Regions from separate parts of the Homo sapiens genome. Here region 2 is linked to region 1. The links are contacts of gene promoters, found by promoter capture Hi-C in blood cells and fetal thymus (Javierre and others, 2016). All regions are on one chromosome and are shown on one strand. Each heading gives the region's core, a stretch centred on a gene start or on the middle of the fragment in contact. The rest is flanking DNA. Distances are from core to core; before and after follow the strand shown. Region 1 holds the start of PARP14 (poly(ADP-ribose) polymerase family member 14). Region 2 overlaps CD86 (CD86 molecule).

Evidence for each region. Contacts are between HindIII fragments. The CHiCAGO score rates a contact against its expected background, and 5 or more counts as called.
Region 2: a fragment that was not itself captured here is called in contact with the fragment with the promoter of PARP14 in region 1 in 1 of 17 cell types (fetal thymus); the score reaches 7.3 in fetal thymus.

The regions. Positions count from the first base shown.
Region 1 is chr3:122,678,525-122,682,556 of GRCh38, forward strand. It overlaps PARP14 (poly(ADP-ribose) polymerase family member 14), which reads left to right and starts at 2,315. Exons shown (of 17, transcript NM_017554.3): 1 at 2,315-2,546. The coding sequence starts at 2,360. RefSeq lists enhancers at 1,303-1,422, 1,826-2,598, 2,023-2,422, 2,964-3,053 and a silencer at 2,663-2,712. The HindIII fragment of the contact is 13,941 bases long and covers 1-4,032 here.
Region 2 is chr3:122,100,001-122,104,110 of GRCh38, forward strand. It overlaps CD86 (CD86 molecule), which reads left to right. Exons shown (of 7, transcript NM_175862.5): 3 at 3,512-3,847. Among named protein-coding and RNA genes, the nearest start is that of CD86, 47 kb to the left of the region's middle. RefSeq lists an enhancer at 1,060-1,249. The HindIII fragment of the contact is 1,321 bases long and covers 1,744-3,064 here.

The DNA of each region.
Region 1 (4,032 bases), core at 1,065-3,564:
CTCAATGGTAGAAATGAGGAGGCTGATGCTAGTTGGTAGAGAAGTTCAAAAGAGCACGATGCTAGGCTACGGCAGTTTGTAGAGAAACCAAAAGGGGGAATTTAGATGAAGTAGGGAAAGGGAAGTTCAGCCCAAAAATGCAGACATGGGCTGTTACATTAAGATGAGCTGTAGCTGTGAAGTAGAAGGAGAATCAAGGAACACGGCCACTTCTACAGCAGGCCACCCCCACCCCAGGCCCTGAGAAGACACGTGCTTCCCAGGAAGAAAGGATCAGAAGGCAGATACCCACAGGAAACAGAGAATTGTGAGAGGATACGCATTCTTCAAGTGAACAAGGCAAAAATAACTTGCAGAAAACAAAGTACTGCAGGAGCTAATGCCGTTCAACAATTTGCCCCTTCTAGAACTTTCTTTCCTTGGCTTTCAAGACCTGCCATCCTGATCCTCTGATAGCTCCTTCCCAGTCCACCCAGGCATGATAAGCAGACCTCGGTGGTAAGACACATTGTCGATAATTAAATAAATCCTCGAAAGTAATCCAGAAATGCCTCTGACTTTATTTCTTATACAATAATTATGTGAGGAAAAAGGGAAACTTTTTGCTGAGTTCTGGAACCCCAAACTCAGGGGAGAGTGGGAGAGGAGGAGTGCTGATTTTAGTTGTGGTTTGGGATGAGATGTAAAGGCCCTGGGGAGAAACAGTCACCAAGTCTGGCTGAGGGCGCTTGTCCTCCCGTCTTCCGCATGCGGGGGTCCAGAGCAGTTTTGGATCAGATGATGAGCGCCATCTGCAGGTAGCAAGCTGGAGGCAGGAGAAAATATCTGTGTACTGTTTAGGATTATTACAGAGCCGAAATAAAAGCCAGGTAAACCATTTGGCCCATCTCTGGTTCTCTTCATTCTGAAATTCAGCCCGATCCTGTAACCCCACAACCTACTGCCTGGCTCCTTCTTCCCCTTCACGGTCACATTTCTGCAAAGAGCGTGTTACGCTCTCTGCTTCCACTTCCTTCCCTCCCTTTCAGTCTTCAGTAGCTGCCATCTCCCTCTCCTCCCTCCTCACCAGGAGACTATGCTTGCCGCTCCTCAGCAGTCCAGCAGACACTTCTCTGACCTGAGGTATCGGTAGCACTGGAATGATAATCCCCCCGCCCCCCTCGACTTGCAACACTGCTTTATTTGGGGTCAAGGAAACACACAGCCCCAGCTTCTCTCCCATCACTCGGCCTCCCCTCTTGCAGATGCCACTATTATCCAGCCACTTGCACGGGCCATCCATGGCTGACCATGGAGTCATCCTTGAGCTTCTCCTTCTCTCAAGGCTCACATTCTTCAGCAAGTCCTGCTTTCACTATTAATTGAGAATCCTCGTTTTCTCAGTTCTTCTCTGCCAGCACCCCAGTCTCAGCCACCCTTGTCTCTCACTTAGGACACTATGGTAGCCACTTGGCTGATCTCTCTGCCTCCACTCTAGCCACCACGCAGCAGCCGGAGTGATCCTGTACATGTGAATCACACCGTGGAACCCCACTTCCTAACCCTCCAAGGCTATCCCCTGATATCCTGGGGTTATCAGGTTACATGTCACCGCCCTATAAACCCTCCCTGAGCCGCCACAGCTGGACTAGGAGCCACTCCTCATCTGTTCCAGGAACACAAGTATATTCTTTCCCAGAGCACCTATTGCCCACTGTGTTCACCATAGCTCCGTGAGCTCAGCGAGGGTTCAGTGAGTGAGTGCATGGCGCCTAGTAAATATTCCACAAAAAAAACTGTGAGTGTAATTGTTTCCCCCACATTTCTAGACATGTAGTATTAACAGATCAAGGAACAGAAAGCAAAACAGGGAAAGCAACGTAAAATTCTGATAATCACAATGATTGCTGAAAAAGTCCCCAAATAGGCAGCAAACATTCTAAAGGGGCCACAGTTTGTGAGTCATTTTATTCTTTTGTAAAGGGTCGGCTTGCGGCAAAAATTAAATGATCTTTGCGTTTGGGCAAGGTCTGGTGCCCCAAAGCTGCCGACTTGATCTGCGGTTGGGGCGAGCGGCAGGTAGGGGGCCCGGAGTTAGGAGGGGGTGTGGGAGCCCGTGGAGCACAGGTGAACTGAGGCCGCCTTCCCGGGGCGCCGCTGGCCAGCCCCAAAGGGTTACTTTGGCCTTGGCTGTGGGCCGAATGCGAAGGTGGGGAGGTGGGCGGGGGATGACTCTGCCATTCCTGGGTCCGCTGTGTTAGGCTGAAGGCAAAAGGAAACCAAGGCCTGGGAGTTTTCCAGGAAACGAAAGCGAAAGAGTCAAAGTTAGCGGCCCGGAGTTGGCGCGGCCCCTGCAGTCCGGCGGAGAGCGGAGCTGAGGATGGCTGTGCCCGGCTCCTTCCCGCTGCTGGTCGAGGGCTCCTGGGGCCCCGACCCCCCGAAGAACTTGAACACCAAGTTGCAGATGTACTTCCAGAGCCCGAAGAGGTCGGGAGGCGGCGAGTGTGAGGTCCGCCAGGATCCCAGGAGCCCATCCCGCTTCCTGGTGTTCTTCTACCCGGAGGACGGTGAGGGGCGCGAGGGGTGGGGTGAGGAGGGGGCACCTCTGCCCTCCCTCCAGGGAAATGGCGGCAGGGCACGCACGGGAGGGTGACCCGCCCGACTTCGGCGGCTGCTGTAGCGGAGGTGGCCGGGGCGGGGGCGGGGGCGGGGGCGGCAGAATGGATTCCGAGCGCACCCGGGGCGCTGCGGTTCCCCGGCGCCCTGCGCTTCCAGGCGCTTAATGGCGCGGCCCGGAGGTGGCGGCGGAACCGCGCAAGTAACTCTTTATCCCTCGATCGTTTTCTGTCTTTCCCTGTTGTGGTGGTGTTATTGTTTGTTGTTGTTGTTGTGGAAGTGAGTCTATCCTCTTATCATCCTTTTCTGTCTTTTCCTGTTGTTATTATTCTTGTGTGGGGAAGGAAACTGATTAAGAAACGTGGCAAGTCACAGAGATTCCTTGTGGTTCTTGGAGATTCCCAGGGGTCCCGGGGTCACTTGGGAGAGGGGCAGAGGCGCTACCTAAAATCACACTGCCTGAATGTCAACGTAGAGCCGTCACAGCGGCCACATTGGAGGGGCTGTCGATCGACCACAGGTGCCCATTGTCGAGGGCCTGCCGGGGCCTCTTCTCCGAGTCTCTAGTGGCCCTCAGATTGGGAGCAAGGATGATATTCTGAAGTGATTGTGGGTTGGGAGATTTGAGCTTTGGAGGGAAAGTCGGCAAAGTTCCCTCCTTACAGACCCACCACTACTTGGTGGGCCAAGAGCCCAGAGGTGATCTGCTGGCTCAAGGGCCTCCCTGGTCTGCAATGGGAAGCCAGTGACCTGCAGCTCCCAGAATGGGCACCTTTTCCACTGGCATCTTATGGATGATGACCTATCGGGATCTAGTCAACCCCTAATTCCGCTTTCATGTCGCTAGATTTGGAGAAGCATTCGGGCCAGAGGAGAGGCAAGGAGGCTGAGGCTGAGGCCATGCAATTAGAGTGCCCAAGCAGGGATCCAAAAAGGAAAAATGAAACAGAAAAAGAATGGCGCACAGAAGGAAGGAAGGAGGGGGACAGGAGATATGCTTGGCTCATGGCCCTTATGAAAACAAAATACCATGTTTTCCTAGGATTAATTTTACCAAGGAGTGCTCAGAAGGGCAACTGTGTGATATTAGTCATTTCTCTTTTGGGTGTCACTTTTCCTTGAGGGTTTTCCCCACTTTGACTTCAGAGGTCAGCATCACCATCGATCTGGCCCTTAAGGATGCTTCTTTCTCCTTTAGATTCCATTATCCTTAGAAGTAGGTCTGACCTGCATCTGAATCACCTGGAGAGCAGGTTAACCAGGCACCTTCCCAGCTCTGTTTTAGAGATTCAGGTTCAGTGAATGTGGGGTGGGTGGGAAGCGTGTATTTAACCGGCAGCCCAGGTGACCCTAATGTGTTCAAGTTTCAGAATTTCCGTAGTTAATGTTAACCCCAAATGAACAAAAAGAAATAATTATACAAATTTAAACAGCATG
Region 2 (4,110 bases), core at 1,154-3,653, 580 kb before region 1:
TTAGTATATTGAGATTAAGATTCTAGGGACTGAGCTGCTCCAGGTGAAAAGTTTCAGGGTTATGTCATAAGAAGGTGGGGGGCAGCTGCTGAAATAGTCTGCGGGTGTAGACCTGTGGAGTTGACAAGATCAAAGAAATTTGAGGCAAGGTTGTTAGACTCATTCATGAAGAAGTCACCCAAATTGTTAGCAAGACCTTGCATCTAATGCCAAAATCCTCATTTAGCAAGGTGGTAGTGACTTAGTAGCTACAAGCAATGAGAAAGTCAGACACCTCAAAAGGGGAAGGTGTTGCTCAAAGTCCCCACAAAGTGTGATAAAACAAACAGTAGCTGGGGCTGGAGCAAGTGGCTTCCTTTGGGTGAAGCCAGATTTCACTGAAATAATAACCTCAGGGAAACAGTCAATGAAGGGGTTAAAGATGTGGGAGAGTTTCCTTGTAGTAAGTAATGGAATGAGGCTTTCAAAGGGCCAAGTAAAACTTTGGAGGAAGTTTAGTAAAAGAAGGAATTTTTTTTAGTACAGATAAGCATAGGAACATAAAGAAGAGATAATTCTTAAACATATAAGATATGCATTTGGGGATAGCAGCCAGGGAACACTGAAGTCCCAGTGGGGTCAGAGACTTCATAAGGCTAGCAAATTACAGTTTTTGAGTGGCATTCCAACAGTAGAGTGTATTGCTCAGGAAGTCCTTAATTATCCTTTGAAACAAATTCCTTCAGCTGATTACGAAGGCATCTAGCTGGATTCTTGAGCGACTTGTTCCTGACATCATAGCAACCCATTGTAACTAGACTTCGACCATTCCTCTTACCCAAGTGCTGGGGAAGGGAGAGATTCTCAATGCTTACCCACCTATGGAATCCCAGTAAGTCCAGTTGCTAGGTGGCTTGAGGTCTGGGGTCATAAAATGGAAGGCCTGAAGTCATTTGGTGATCACAGACCTTGAGCCAAACTTTCCCCATTTAGTCAGAGAAAGGATTAGCAGCATCCCCCATGCCTGGCTCTGTGTGAGATCATGGAAGCCAGTGGTTGGTGAGGTGCTATGGAGTATAAATTGCAAAATACTTTCAGTTCCACTCAGAATGGATTTCAAAGTGATTTCCACCCCATGGGGAGGAGAGGGAGTCTGAGGAGGGATGGATGGAAAAAAAATTTTCATGTCATTTTCTGTGATCCACTCTGGAGACAGAGGCAGAGATTCTCTACAACAGCTGCTCAAACTATAGCTCTTGTTAAAATGGAGGTTCTGAATCAGTAAGTCTTGGGTGGGGCCAGAGATTCCGTGTTTCAGACCAGCCCACATGTGACGTGAATCTCATTGGTCCATACATCACACTTTCAGTTGCTAGGTGAAGAAGGGAGCACTCGATGAGTGGAAGAGAAAGCCGTTGTAATCTTTGGGAGAAGGGGCCTGGGTCAGCGGAGTTAGACTGGTCTGTGAGTGGACAGAATGGATGGGAAGGAAAGAAGATACTGTGAGGCTCTACAGAAAAAAAAAAAAAAAAAAATATATATATATATATATATATATATATGTAAATCAAGAAGACAGAAGCAGCTAAAGACGAAGTCATTTCCAGGTCCAGAAGGCACAACTGACAGCTGAGTAATAACATAACATTGACTGTTAATTGGCAGAATTTTTAACTGTGTGTTTGGTTTCTCCATCAGGTCATCTGTCCTATATTACATGACAATTTAGACTAAAACCAGTATTTCCTCAGAGACAATGCTAGAAGCTTTTACAGTAGGGGGCACTCTTGCATTACATTAAGAGCTCAGCAAAGAAGATGCAGAAGCCTCAGGTTTGCCTTGTAAGGTGATTCATAAACACACTAAATCTTCCTTAGGTCTCCCTTTCACTGTCAGGGTACGCATATAGATTTTCCTTCCTCCCTCCAATACCGGTACGCATCCTCTACAGGTGGTGCATTTTATACCTCAAGTACTTCACAGGGTCCTAGTGAGTGTAGTGAAATAGGCAGTGATTCATATTTGTGCAAACTCCCACTGATGCCTGCTGTCTGCTTCCCTAAGAGTTCAAGACCACCACCAACCCCTTGATTATGTGTTCTCACTGGGCCACTCTGTACACAGTTTAGTTTGACAAGTGCATGTCACTGTTATCTGTCCTTCTATTCCCTCTTTCAAGAGAAACCACATCAATTTAATTACTCCCCCACTTAGAACTCTTCAAATGAAGCTCCTCTCATCTCTCTCATCAACCCATCTCCTCCCTTTCCTCCTCAATGTCAACATGCCTTCACATAAATCCTGAATGATGAAATTTTATTTAGAACTTACACTAACTTCCTCTCCAAGGTGGCATCTAACTTCATATTAAGTAAGAAACAGCCTTCCCACTCTCCACCCCCGCACTTCTCACCCACCACTGCTTACTTTTTTTTTTTTTTTTTTTTTTTTTTTGCCAAGTCTCAAGTAATTCTGTAACCTAGAAAAGGTCCTACACAAACCCCGTGATCATTCACATTTAAGTAGTTGGGTGGCCCACATCCTTCCCACAAACCCCAAAGTGTCCTCAAGGACTAAAGCCTTTCTCTCAACCCTTCCAGCATGATGTCTATGGTTGTAAAATTGTCCAGGGTCAGTGCATACTGGGAGCAGCAAGTTTGTGGTGCCTGGGGTTTCCCCAATACTCCCAAAGCACATCCTCACCTGCCCATCTATGATTCATTTTCAGCATTTCACTCATGTGCCTTAAATGGTCATTGACCACCACAATCCGAAAACAGCCATCAAATTTGCCCAGTTCTCTTTCTGATCTCTGAAAGAGCTTAGAGAGGTCACTGAAAATAAAGGCCTTGGTTCACTATCGAAGTCATTTCTAAAGCATTTGACATCCTTGGAAGTGCTGGCCATGGGAGCAGCAGTCATAGGGGAAGTTCTGTAAAGGGAGCTATTTGAATTTCAAAGATGTTACTCAACGTGATTCCCCAACTAATGAAGTATAATAAAGGGGGGCTATAATTTATTACCATTATCAGCAATCTTTTCACCATAGCAGACCAAGGAATATGTGGATGGGAGGGGAGGGGAAAGCTTTTGGTGATGGTGTAGAAGTTATGGAACCTGTAACAGCTACAGTGATGAAAACTAAAATTAAGGTTATAGGAAGGTAACTGGTGGGTGAATGGGTTGTCTAACTCTACTGGTTTTTCCCTGTCTTGCAATTTAAATTCACAGAACCACAGTACTAGAAAGACCCTTGGAACATTTAGTCAACCACTTCATTAATCAGATGAGGAAACTGAGGCTCATAAAGATTGCAGTTTGTACAAGGCCACACATTTAGTCAGCGGTGAAGCAAGGACAAAGGTCCTAATCTCCAGATGCCAAGCAGATGTGCACAGTTCCAGAGCTTAATATCTTATTCTTCAGCATGATTACTGATAAGATAGTATCTGGGTATTGTATAAAGAGAAATGGAGGTTTTTTCCCCTTTCCTCTTGTTTCTCCCTCCCTAATCCTTAACCTTCTTTTTTAGGTGCTGCTCCTCTGAAGATTCAAGCTTATTTCAATGAGACTGCAGACCTGCCATGCCAATTTGCAAACTCTCAAAACCAAAGCCTGAGTGAGCTAGTAGTATTTTGGCAGGACCAGGAAAACTTGGTTCTGAATGAGGTATACTTAGGCAAAGAGAAATTTGACAGTGTTCATTCCAAGTATATGGGCCGCACAAGTTTTGATTCGGACAGTTGGACCCTGAGACTTCACAATCTTCAGATCAAGGACAAGGGCTTGTATCAATGTATCATCCATCACAAAAAGCCCACAGGAATGATTCGCATCCACCAGATGAATTCTGAACTGTCAGTGCTTGGTATGTGGTCAATGGTGTGTGTTCAGATTCTTAGCCTTCTCAGATGAGACTGCAAATGAGTTAGAAAAACACTGGAGGGGGACTTGAGGGGCCCAGGGGAAAAGGGGGGTCTATAGAGAGAAGGCAGAGGACAGCCACTTCTGGGAAGTGCATTTGAAGGGAGTGTAGAGTCTGGGAGTAGGGAACTGAAAGTCTTTTGTACTTTTTATAGTCTGCTTCTGAAGGATCAGTAAAAATCTGCTTTGGGGAAAAAATAGAGCTAA